Regions from separate parts of the Homo sapiens genome. Here all the other regions are linked to region 3. Evidence: promoter capture Hi-C in 16 types of primary human blood cells and fetal thymus (Javierre and others, 2016). All regions are on one chromosome and are shown on one strand. The core of a region is centred on a gene start or on the middle of the fragment in contact, and the rest is flanking DNA. Distances in the headings are between cores, read along the strand shown. Region 1 overlaps LINC02176 (long intergenic non-protein coding RNA 2176). Region 2 overlaps LOC124903735 (a long non-coding RNA gene). Region 3 holds the start of USP10 (ubiquitin specific peptidase 10).

Region 1 (4,038 bases), core at 1,031-3,530, 240 kb before region 3:
TGTCTCTAAAAAACAAAATACAAAAGATAAACTGCTACAGTGCATTCCTCAAAAAGTTAAACATAGTTACTCTATGACCCTACAATGCTGCTCCCAGGTATAGGCCCAGAAGAATTGAAAGCAGGTATCAAACACTTACCTGTTCATAGCACTATTCACCACAGCGAGAAGGTGAACAGAACTCAAGAGTCCGCCAACAGATGAATGGATAAACAACTGTGGTCTGTGTGACGGAATATTATTCAGCCATAAAAAGGGATGAAACAGGCGGGTGTGGTGGCTCAAGCCTGCAATCCCAGCACTTTGGGAGGCTGAGGTGGGCAGATCACTTGAGGTCAGGAGTTCAAAACCAGCCTGGCTGACATGGCGAAACCCCATCTACTAAAAATACAAAAATTAGCCAGGTGTGGTGGCGGGCACCTGTAATCCCAGCTACTCAGGAGGCTAAGGCAGGAGAATCGCTTGAACCTGGGAGGCAGAGGTTGCAGTGAGCCAAGATCGCACCATTGTACTCCAGCCTGGGCATCAGAGTGAGACTCCATCTCAAAATAAATTAAAAAAAAAAAAAAAAAAAAAGGGATGAAACACCGATCCAGGTTATACAATGTGGATGAACCCTGATGCCATGGTGCTAAGTGAAAGAAGCCAGACGAAATGACCACATACTGTGTGACTCCATTGATAAGGAATGTCTAGGACAGGCCAGTCCATAGAGACAGAAAGCTGACTGGAGGCTGCCAGGAGCTGGGGGAGACAGAAATTAGGAGAAACTGCTTAATGGGTTTGGGGTTTCACTGTGGGATGAGGGAAGTGTTTTGGAGCTAGATAGGGGTGCTGGTTGTACAAAACTGTAAATGTACTGAATGCTGCTGGGGGCAGTAGCTCATGCCTGTAATCCTGGTGCTTTGGGAGGCCAAGGCGGGCAGATGTCTTGAACCCAAGAGTTCAAGACCAGCCAGGGACGCATGGCAAAACCCTGTCTCTACAAAATGTCAGCCAAGCGTGGTGGCATGTGTCTATAATCCCAGCTACTTAGGAGGCCGAGGTGGGAGGATTGCTTGAGCCTAAGAGGTTGAGGCTGCAAAAAAAAAAAAAAAAAAAGTACCAAATGCCAATTAATTGATCACTTTAAAATGGTTATTTTTATGTTATATGATTTCACCTAAATAAATTAGTTTTAAAACCCTAAAAACAAAACACCACAGTGGACAAGGCAGAACCAGGAGGACCAGTTGGCAAATCAGACAAAAAGGAGGGCAGAGGGGTGGGGTGGGGAGGAACCTGGGGTGTGCAGACAGTTAGGGTGACAGGCGCCATCCGAATGGTGGGGTCAGCAGGAGAGGAGAGGAGAGAGATGCCCAGCGTCTGGAGGAAGGGTGGATGAATCTAAAGCACAATGGGCTCCAGAAGCTTCTGGAAGGAGAGAGGACCTGTTTATGTGTTGGGTCTGCGGTGCCAGAGGGCCTCTCGGGCGGGGAGCTCATGTGAGTGTCTCCCACTGAATGAGTCAGGCGGAGAGTATGTTGGAAAAATACGCTGACATGTCCTGCGGTGTCAAACCATCCCTGGCCCAGCCACTGTGTCACTCAGCCCAAGGGCAGATGGGGAAATGTGCCTGTTGAGGTGCGAGTGGGGTGGGGAGAAGGTCACCCTAGTCCATCTGGGTTGCGGGGCGGGTGTGCTCACCTCAAAAGAAAAGTCTGGTCCAGGAATCCCAGTTGTCTGGATAGCGGTGTGTCTCCCATTTTACTAGGGGGAGGATGCAGATCCAGAGAGGTCCGGGTCCTGGGGAGTGAGGGGCGAGTCAGGTCTGCCTGGCCTCTACACTCATGCCCTTGTCTTTATTTCATGCTCAGCCCCTCATCACATAGGTACCGTTCGGAAGCACGTTCTAGAAAGTCCCCTCCTAAAAGTGGACACGGTTTGGGAGCAGGAGGAGGAAGCCTCGGCGGTGAGGAACGCTCACGGCAGGAAGGCGTGAAGGAGCCGCGCTCAGCAACTGCTGCAGCTCCGGTTTGGAACCAGGGCTGTCGGGGAGTTGAGCGTCTCTGGGTCTCGCTTCAGGTGTTCATCAAGGCACAGGCAAAAGCCACTTACTGGGGAAGGGGGTTGGGAAGAGCAGGCCCCGAAGTCACACTTGAGTTGGGATAATTTAGGGAGCGCTCAGGAAAAGGACTGTGCTCAAAGGTGCAGGGATGCGTGGGCTCCGGGACACCGCAGGCGGCGCACGGGCAGCACCAGGGCCGGCAACGGCAGGAGCGCCCAGCACTGAGGCCCGAGGGTAAGGTTGGGGACACGGGACGCAGCTGGCCCATGCGGCCCTGCAGAGAGGGAATTGGGGGAGTGGATGCGACTCAGCTCCTCCAGCCCTCTCCAGTCTCTTGCAGACACCTCCCACCTGCCAAACGCCTCCAGAGGCCGGGGGCAGCTGGTCCTACAGGGGGTTTCCCAAGGCCGGCATCCCTGGGTGGGGAAGCGTGGACGTGGGCCCCAGGCTGTGTGTGTGGACTTCAGGTGACACTGGATGGCATTCCGCAGCCCTGAGCCCCCCTCACGCACATGATCACACACGGGGGGTCCTGGCCGCCTCTCAGGAGGGGCCTCTCATCCTGCTGTTTGTAAACTTCAGAAAGCCAAACAGTCCCTTAGAGAAGCCAGGCCTGGATTTGCTCCGGACATCTGGAACAAGTTACCCTATTTCCCAATCTCTGCTGATCGTTCCCCGCTGCGGGAATGCTGCCCTCGGCCGACAGGGACGAGGACCTGTGGAGAGTGGCAGCCCCCACAGGCCGAGGCTGGCAAGGCGGGCACGGGGGCCGGGGCTCTGGTGGAAATGTCACATTTGAGGCAGCTCTCACAAGGGCCCTGTCTGATGCGAGGCCAGGCCTAGAGAGGATGGTGGAGACTGTGCGTGTGCAGGGTGTTCCGGAACCTTCCCTGGGATGCATGGGGCCTCGCCGCAGGCCATCTCTCCAGACCTGGACTCACCCTGCCCCTGTGCTGTTGCCTTTGTCTGGAATTCCACCCCAGCCTTCTTGCCTCAAGAACGCCCTTCCCCCTTCAGATCTCATGGGCACAGTCCCCGTCTTCCTAAACGGGGTCAGAGCCCCCAGTAATCATGACAAAGACCCTCTCCTCGATCAAGCTTTGGTCAGGCTCCTCCAAACCCTCTTCTCCAGGAGGCCTTGGCCTGGGGGCTTCTGCACTTGTCTTGGCTTTTTCCAGTTTTAGCAAGAACCCAGAGTCAATTAGGAAAACTCCCCGACCCCCGACGCGTGAGCAGTTCCTCGCCTGGCACTGCCCCTCGGGGGTGTCTGTTCACCTGGCCTGCCTTCGGCGAGAGTCCTGTTCCATCGGTTTAGCCAGAACTTCCCCCCACACCTAATGCTTCCTCTTAGTCATTTTCTTTTTTTGAGACGGAGTCTCGCGCTATCACCTTGGCTGGAGCACAGTGGCGCGATCTCAGCTCACTGCAACCTCCGCCTCCCAGGTTCAAGCGATTCTCCTGCCTCAACCTCCCAAGTAGCTGGGATTACAGGTGTGTCCCACCAAGCCTGCCTAATTTTTGTATTTTTAGTAGAAACAGGGTTTCACCATGTTGGCCAGGCTGGTCTTGAACTCCTGACCTCCAGTGATCCACCTGCCTCGGCCTCCCAAAGTGCTGGCATTACAGGCATGAACCACTGCGCCTGACCTCCTCTTAGCCATTTTCCATCCACTGAACCTCTGCTCCAGGTGACATCCCCACTCATCACCGCTGTATTCAGACCAGAGCCCAGGTCTACACCGAGGTCTCTTCTCTCATTTCAACAGTTCCTCAATAAAATCTGCTTTTACTGCTCACCTATTTTCTGGCTCTGGTTTCTTCGATAGTCGCATGGTCTGTCTCTCCTGCTGTCAGCGCCGGGTGGGCAGGGCTGTGTGTGTTCAGTTCCTGCTTGTCCATACCTTGTATATGGTGGAAGCTCCATAGAGAATTTTTTGAATAGGCCAGGTGCGGTGGCTAACACTTCTAATCCCAGCACTTTGGGAGGCCGA
Region 2 (4,051 bases), core at 81-2,580, 180 kb after region 3:
GAAAAAAGTCAAGGAGTAAGACAGTCGTCTGCTTCCCGTGTGTCCATGTTTAAAGGCTGTAGGTGGAGGTGAATATGCACCTCTAGAACTTTGGGAAAATCCACGGGAAGCTTCTCGTGGCGGTTGCCTCCAGGGAGCAGGTCTGGAGGAGGTGGAGAGGAAGTTGCCTTTTTCTTAAGTCTTTAGGACTTTTTGAAAATGTTACTGTGTTTGCGGATGATGAAGGAAACTCCCAGGTCAGGGGCTGTGGTTGTGGGATTTTGTTTCTTTACACCTTGTTGTAGACAGAGCTGATCACACTGAAACCCCTGTGGGTTGGTCCGGGGGCTGCCTGAGTGCACACAGCGTGGGGCCTGCACGTCTTCTCGTCCGGGTTCTCACTCTCAAGCCTGCATCGGAGCCCCCAGGACGGCTCCTCAAAATGCAGTCAGCAGCCCACTCCAGGAATCTCTGACCCAAGAGCTGTGTGTGCGGCTTGAGGATTTTTGTAGTTTAACAAGTTCCTAAGGGGCTGCTGTGAGTCAAAACCCACACTGAGGACCAGAGCTGCCGGGGTTCCAGCCCTGGTGTTGGGTATTTCTCTCTCCAAATAACTTACTACCCTTTCCCCGCAAAACAGCAGGCGGCAGATGAGGGTCCATCCTTTGTGCCGAAACCCCTATTAACCTCAATAGGGAAGGCACCAGGTTCAAGAGGCCAACGAAGAGACTCAGAGACAGTGAACGAGACACAGGTTTTACTGCGGCGTACGGACAGGGGAGAGCGGGCTGCACAGGAGAGCCACGGCCGTCTGCAAACATCGTGCAGTTTACCCAGCATTTTCATTTAACCCCCTCCCCCTAACGGCCTCCACCTGGCAACCTGCATTTAACCAAAAACTCAGGGCCTCAACCTCCTGTACAGCTCGTGTTCCACGGGCCAGGCTGGGGTTGGGGTGGGGGAGAGGGAACTGAGGCTCAGATGTGTCTCATAGACAAGGAACGGATCTCGGGGTTGGCCAACCCAGATTCCCTAGCTCGGAACATGCATCCGCGTGCATCTGCCATCCAGGGTCATCCCCACCTTCTCAGGTACACTTCAGTGACTGTCCTCAGGCGCCCTACACCACCTGGCTGCTGTTTCCTGGTTAACCAGGAGAGCAGCTTCGTGACTCCACGCTGGCCTTGCCTGCAGTGTAGTCTCAGTTTTAAAAGCACCCACACCTGAGCCCCGCCCAGACCTGGGACATCGGAATCGTTAGTGTGGGCTCCGCCATGGGTATTTTTAAGAAAACCACAGGTGAACTTTGGATAGGGACTGTGGATTCATTTCCTAGGTCTGCTGTACCACAAACTGCGGGCAGGGGGTTAAAATCACCAGAAATCGACTTCCTCACAGCTCTGGATGCCACAAACCCAAAGTCAAGGTGTCAGCAGGGCTGGTGCATCTCGAGGCCTGTGGACGCTGTCTTCCTGTGTGACTCTTCACAATACCTTCCCTCCGTGCATGGCTGTCTCTGTCCAATGAAAAAGAAAAAAAGGCCATGCATGGTGGCTCCTGCCTATAATCCTAGCACTTTAGGAGGCCAGGGCGGGTGGATCACCTGAGGTCAGGAGTTCAAGACCAGCCTGGCCAACATGGCAAAACCCCAGCTCTATTAAAAATATACAAAAAAAAAAAAAAAAAAATTAGCCAGGCGTGGTGGTGTATGCCTGTAATCCCAGCTACTCAGGAGGCTAAGGCAGGAGAATCGCTTGAATCTGGGAGGCAGAGGCTGCAGTGAACCGAGATCTCACCACTGCACTCCAGCCTGGGCAACAGAGTGAGACTCCACCTCAAAAAAAAAAAAAAAAAATACCAGTCACACTAGATCATAGGCCCAGTACCCTGCTGTGACCTCATCTTAACTAATTCCATCTGCAATGACTCTATTTTCAAATAAGTCACATAGTCATATCCTGGGGCACTGGGAGAAAGACTTTAACACATGAATTTTGTGGAGGGATAGAATTTAATCCAATGAGACTGAATATAAGGTTTGCTTCTGGGCTGGGCGGAGCAGCTCACACCTATAATCCCAGCACTTTGGGAGGCTGAGGTGGGTGGATCACTTGAGTCCAGGAGTTCCAGACCAGCCTGGGCAACTTGGCAAGACCCTGGAAAATAAAATAAAAATCAGCCAGGTGTAGTGGCATGTGCCTGTAGTCCCAGCTACTCGAGAGGCTGACGCGGGAGGATCACTTGAGCCCAGGAAGTGGAGGCTGCAGTGAGCTATGATTGCACCACTGCACTCCAGCCTCAATGACAGCGAGACCCTGTCTCCAAAAAAATAGTTTGTTCCTCCAACCATCATGAGTACATGAAGTACTCAGACCTTGTGAAGGTGCGGATTCTGATTCAGGAGGTCTGGGGTAAAGCCGGGAGACTCTGCATTACCAACCAGAGTCCAGCAATTGACGCTCAGGTTCTATGACAAAATGATTGTTAATGTTGTTAGATGCATTGACAGTTCTGTGGTTAGTACAACGGCATCATTTTTTAAAAAATGCGTCAAATATGTTGAAAGCTTAAATGTCAGAATTGACCCACTTCGAACATTCCAACGAACAGTAGGAAAGGGCAGAATGTTAGCAATGGCTGAGTCTGGGTGGTGGGTATAAAGAGGGCTTGTTTTTTTAGTCTGGTTTTCCGCATATTAGACGTTTTTCATAATCTCTTTGGAAAAGCTTTCCAGCGCCTGGGGCTGAGTATCTCTGGGACGGGCCCTGGGGGATGGGTCTCGTGGGGCCTGGTATCAGTTCCCAGCTGGCGGTCGAGTTCTCTAGGGGAACAGGGCCTGCATGTAGCAGTATTTTTATTATTTTCAACCGCAGTCGCTTCTTCCTGTTGCCTTCTGGGTACTGGGAGGCACCCGGGAAGAGCTGGGATTCTGGGGTCCCCCAGTATGGTTTACCTGCTCTGGGGCAACAGGGACAATTTGGGTTTCTAAGCAACATTCTGGCTGGGTGCCGTGGCTCATGCCTGTAATCCCAGCACTTTGGGAGGCCGAGGTGGGCAGATCACCTGAGGTCAGGAGTTCGAGACCAGCCTGGCCAACATGATGAAACCCCATCTCTACTAAAAATACAAAAATTAGGTGGGTGCGGTGGTGGACCCTGGTCATCCCAGCTACTTGGGAGGCTGAGGCAGGAGAATTGCTTGAACCTGGGAGGTGGAGGTTGCAGTGAGCCGAGATCGCGCCATTGCACTCCAGCCTGGGCGACAGAGTAAGACTCCATCTCAAAAAAAAAAAAAAAAAAAATTCTTTGTTTCTGCTGTTTATTTGCTGACAGTGCATGCGTTTCTTTTCCTTACTGTGTGTGGGGGAGTCTGTGCCATGTTCTTAAGTCCTCTCCCTTGCTGTTTTTATTTAACCCCTTCTGGGTCCCAACTCTACCTGGCGGTGCTTGTGGACTGACCCTTCTCACTACTAGCCCGTGTGTGAGCCTTTACAGGGCATCTCCTCTCCCTCTGGAGGACATGGTCTCTCTCGCTGCCTCCTGTGTCCCCTGCCTTTACGTGATGCCCAGCACATAGGCACTCAAGTGTGCCGAACAGTGACTCTTACAGGTCTGGTCTACTCCCACGGAGCCTAGCTCAGGGAGGTTAATTAACCCATCCAAAGCAACCGAGCTGTGGTCTGAACTTCGGAGCCGGTGCTGTCCAACATCCAAATACAGACAATGGAGGTAGAACACAAGCCCTGTGTGCGATTCTAAGGTTTTCATTGTTCATGTTTTAAAACGAGAAATGGTAACATTAATATGCTTTGAACCTAATATAGCCAAAATACTATTTCTACATGGAATTTCTATTTCACAATTATTTTGGGGCAACATGGAAGAGATCATCGTGGTGATGGAACACTTCTGTATCTTCAGCATAGATGGAATAGTTGTGTTTTGTAGTGATGGTCACACGACTCTACTACCCTCGTGGGGAAATGACAGAATTGGACACACACATTGATTGCATCAATGTCTCTTTCCCAGTTTGGATTAGGTGAGTTAGAACCACAGGGAAACTTGGTGCA
Region 3 (4,062 bases), core at 30-2,529:
GAAGCTTGTCGTAAGATCTAATTTTTTAAAAAGTTTTCGCATTTTAGATTCCACAACACGCATTCATTACAATAGTTCCGAAAATCATGTTTCAAAAGAGGTGTAGTCAGATTGACTTCATCTGCAGAAGGGCAACAAAACCCAATTGCTCATGAAGGGTTATGATTTTACTCGCAATCAGTTTCCCGAATGGCTACTTTGTTTCATTTCCCCATATTTAATACAAATACACAATGAGATGGTTTAAAAGTGTGCAACAATTTATAGGGACCAGATGTCAACAAATTAGCAGTCTAAAGCAAGGCTGACAAATAATACATCATGCCGATTTTTGTCCAGAATAATTATAATGGCGGAGGGGGGAGAAGATGTGAGAGAAGGGGTGGGAGAGGGGAATAAGAGCTTAACTCTACACGCACATCTCCCAAAAAGAGCTCTTTCTTTCCACCACGGGATTATTGTAAAGGGCCCCCAAGCTTTAGCTACTGTTCAGGCAGGGTGCGTTAGTTGTCAGCCTGGCTGGGATGGATTCGTGCAAGGGATGTCACTCAAACGCAAGTGAAAGTACGGTCCTTGCGACTTATTTCGAGTTTTCTTTGCAACAGCAGCCCAAGGCCGCTACTCTGCTACTTCTATCTAAAAAACAGAAAATCGGCAACCCCCGCATCATCAATCAAGCTGAGAAAGGAAGCTCTTGGGGCAAAGGGGCAACAGGGCACCCCCAAATCTCTGAGGCTCGCTCCAGGCAGAGGCAGCAACCTGAGCTGCTCTGGGGCCCCTGCGCTCCAGGGGACTCCCGGAGCCCCCGGGCCGCCTCCCCCGGCCGGCGCGGCGGGGAGGGCCCCACTCCACACCCCGGGCTCGCCCCGCGGTCCAGCCCCAGGGAGGTTAACCCCTTCGGCGCCCTCCACGCCCTCCCCAAGCGGGGCCCGGAGCCCCCGCCCTTCGACCTCCCCGGGACTAGGGGGTCCGGGTGGCTCAGGGGACGAAGGCGCGGCGGGCGCGGAGGCGGCGGGTGGCTCCGGCCTAGGCCCGGGCAGCGTGTCCCAGCGCCCTCCCCCACTCCCACACGCTCGCTCCGGGCAGGGCGCGGACGCCCGCCCGCCGCGGCGTCCGCCCGCCCGGGGCTCGGGCCCCTTCCGGCCGAAGGCGCAGACCGGCGGCTACCTGCGGGCTGTGGAGGGCCATGGCTGCCCGTTTCATTGGGACTCCGCGATCCTCCGGCTGCTCACGCTGCTTCCCCCGCCGCCGCCATCTTCTCGCCCGCACATACACACTCGCATCGGCCGCCGCGCCTGCGCACTGGCCGCGCGCCGCGGGGCGCGGGGAGGCCGGCCCGCTGCTGCGCCTGCGCGGCCGACAGGTGGGCGTGCGCCTGCCGGGCCGCGGACATCCCCTGCCCCGCCTGGAGCCTGCCGGACTCTGAGCCCCGCGACCCTCGGGCGGAAGCGGCCGGGCGGCTGCACACCAGGAGCCCGCCGAGGCCTGGCTGTGGATCCGGAAGGGGAGAGGGCAGGCAGGTAGAGGTGGCAACGCCAAGGCGCCGGCGGGCCCGGCTCCTCACCTACTGGGGGCCACCTGGGCCCCCGGAGCCCGGGAGTCGCGGGCTGAGGTCGGCCTGGGGCCCACGAGCCGCCCTCAGCGTACCTGGGCCCGGGCCTCGGGAGTGTTCGCATTAGATCCCCGAGGAGGGTCTGGTTTATGAAGATCCCGTTGCCGCGCATTCATTCATTTGTTCACTCTTCATTCACTCCCCAAGTCCTGCCTGGGCGCCTGGGCCACGCCTTTGGCTAGGCATTAGGGGAAAAAAGCAAAACAGACAAAAACAAAACGTAGGGCATAAAAGCACGCGTAAAGTGCTTGACATGAGGCCTGGCAAGTAGCAAACACTCAGCAAGTGCTACGTGTTGCACACGTGCGTGCGTGTGCACGGGCAAACCAGCCTTGGGGGTCGTTGGTTCATTCATTATTAAGAAACAGGGGCCCCTGCCTAACTGCACTGTTTTCCAGCCAGTGGGTCCACCCTTGGGTTTTGGCCCCTTTTCTAGCTGTGATTTCAGACAAGCGACTTTCCTTCCCTAAGCCTTGGTTTCCTCACCTGTGAATAAGACAAATATGTCATAACGCGTAAGATTTCTGTGAGGTTCAAATTAGATTAACGTGAGCACACTGGCCAAGAGAATAGTCAATAAAAATTGGCTACTGGGATTGTTATTAATAACCATTACTATTGGTTTCATTTATTCAACAAACACCTACAGAGAGTCTGCTCTTGCTAGACCGTACACTGAGCAGAGGAGATGAACAGGAAGATCCATTCCCACGTTACATAAAATAGGGAGCCTGGTCTCTTCATAAATGGGATGCCATGAAAAATATAAGTGGGCCAGGCGCAGCGGCTCACACCCGGAATCCCACACATTGGGAGGCCGAGGCGGGCGGATCACTTGAAGTCAGGAGTTGGAGACCAGCCTGGCTAATATGATGAAACCCCAACTCTACTAAAAATACAAAAATTGGTGGGATGTAGTGTGGCACACCAGGCGTCCCAGCTACTCAGGAGGCTGAGGTGGGAGGATCACTTGAACCCCGGAGACGGAGGTTGCGGTGAGCCGAGATCGTGCCACTGCACTCCAGCCTGGGTGACAGAGCGAGTCTCTGTCTCAAAAAAAAAAAAAGAAAGAAAGAAAGAAAGAAAAGAAAAGAAAAATATAAGTGGTAGGGAGGGGTTGTTCCAAAATAGAAGAGCTAGAAAACATAACCAAATACAATGTGTCATCTTGCTTGGATCCTGATATGTCTTTTAAGCTGGTTTTACTATTTGTTGACAATTGGAGACATTTGAATATGGATTGGATATGGGTGATCTTCGTGAATTATTGGTAATTTTATAGTGTAATAATTATACTGTGCTCACTGAGAGAATGTCCTTATTGTGAGGAGATGCATTCTGAAGAGTTGAGGAGTGAAGGCCATAATGCCTGTAAACTATTGTTTAATGGTTCAACAAAAGATAAAATCATGTACACACATAAACATTCAGGGAGAGACAGCAAATATGGCAAAATGTTTACTATTGTTGGCTCTAAGTAGTGCTATATATTTCAGCTTTTCTCTATGTTTGAAAATTTTTATAACAAAAAATTGGGGAAAACAATACAATATAGTGTCTGTGCTATAATTTTAACCATGGAAAAGCGATATCTGCACTTGGATAGAAACTGGGGGACGTGAAAACTCACTAGTGATTTATGGTTGTCTCTCTGGCTCGGTGCGGTGGCTCACACCTGTAATCTCAGCACTTTGGAAGGCTGAGGTGGGTGGATCACCTGAGGTCGGGAGTTCAAGACCAGCCTGATCAACATGGTGAAGCCCCGTCTCTACTAAAAATACAAAAATTAGTCGGGCGTGGTGGCAGGCGCCTGTAATCCCAGCTACTCAGGAGGCTGAGGCAGAAGAATCGCTTGAACCCGGGAGGCAGAGGTTGCAGTGAGCCGAGATGGCACCATTGCACTCCAGCCTGGACAACAAGAGTGAAACTCTGTCTCAAAAAAAAAAAAAAAAAAAAACATATATATATATATATATATATATATATATATATATATATATATATAGTTGTTTGTCTGATTTTTATCATACAGTTGCTTGAACAACAAATAAAAGTGATAATAAACAAAAGATCCCAGGCCAGGCACGGTGGCTCACGCCTGTAATCCCAGCACTTTGGGAGGCTGAGGCGGGTGGATCACCTGAGGTCAAAAGTTCGAGACTAGCCTGGCCAACATGGTGAAACCCCGTCTCTACTAAAAATACAAAAATTAGCTGGGCATGGTGGCGGGCACCTGTAATCCCAGCTACCTGGGGGGCCTAGGCAGGAAAATTGCTTGAACCCGGGAGGCGGAGGTTGCAGTGAGCTGAGATCACACCATCTCACTCCAGCCTGGGGGACAAAAGTGAGACTTTGTCTCACAAATAAATAAATATATAAATAAATAAATAAAAAAGATCCCAGTCTTCATTTTCAAATAATTCACATAGATATGAACACATACCTTCAGT

The links. The method cuts DNA at HindIII sites, captures the fragments that hold promoters and counts their contacts. A CHiCAGO score of 5 or more calls a contact.
Region 1: a fragment that was not itself captured here is called in contact with the fragment with the promoter of USP10 in region 3 in 1 of 17 cell types (neutrophils); the score reaches 5.4 in neutrophils.
Region 2: a fragment that was not itself captured here is called in contact with the fragment with the promoter of USP10 in region 3 in 11 of 17 cell types (naive B cells, total B cells, non-activated CD4 T cells and 8 more); the score reaches 9.5 in naive B cells.

What each region holds. Positions count from the first base shown.
Region 1 is chr16:84,939,606-84,943,643 of GRCh38, reverse strand. LINC02176 (long intergenic non-protein coding RNA 2176) reads right to left here. Exons shown (of 4, transcript XR_933830.2): 3 at 1,687-1,785; 4 at 587-744. Among named protein-coding and RNA genes, the nearest start is that of LINC02176, 14 kb to the right of the region's middle. The HindIII fragment of the contact is 1,735 bases long and covers 1,413-3,147 here.
Region 2 is chr16:84,516,251-84,520,301 of GRCh38, reverse strand. LOC124903735 (a long non-coding RNA gene) reads right to left here. Exons shown (of 2, transcript XR_007065148.1): 2 at 1,972-2,135. Among named protein-coding and RNA genes, the nearest start is that of MEAK7, 14 kb to the right of the region's middle. RefSeq lists a silencer at 283-362. The HindIII fragment of the contact is 2,435 bases long and covers 113-2,547 here.
Region 3 is chr16:84,697,217-84,701,278 of GRCh38, reverse strand. It overlaps USP10 (ubiquitin specific peptidase 10), which reads right to left and starts at 1,279. Exons shown (of 14, transcript NM_005153.3): 1 at 1,168-1,279. The coding sequence starts at 1,188. RefSeq lists silencers at 708-817, 858-967, 978-1,197, 1,288-1,807. The HindIII fragment of the contact is 5,859 bases long and covers 479-4,062 here.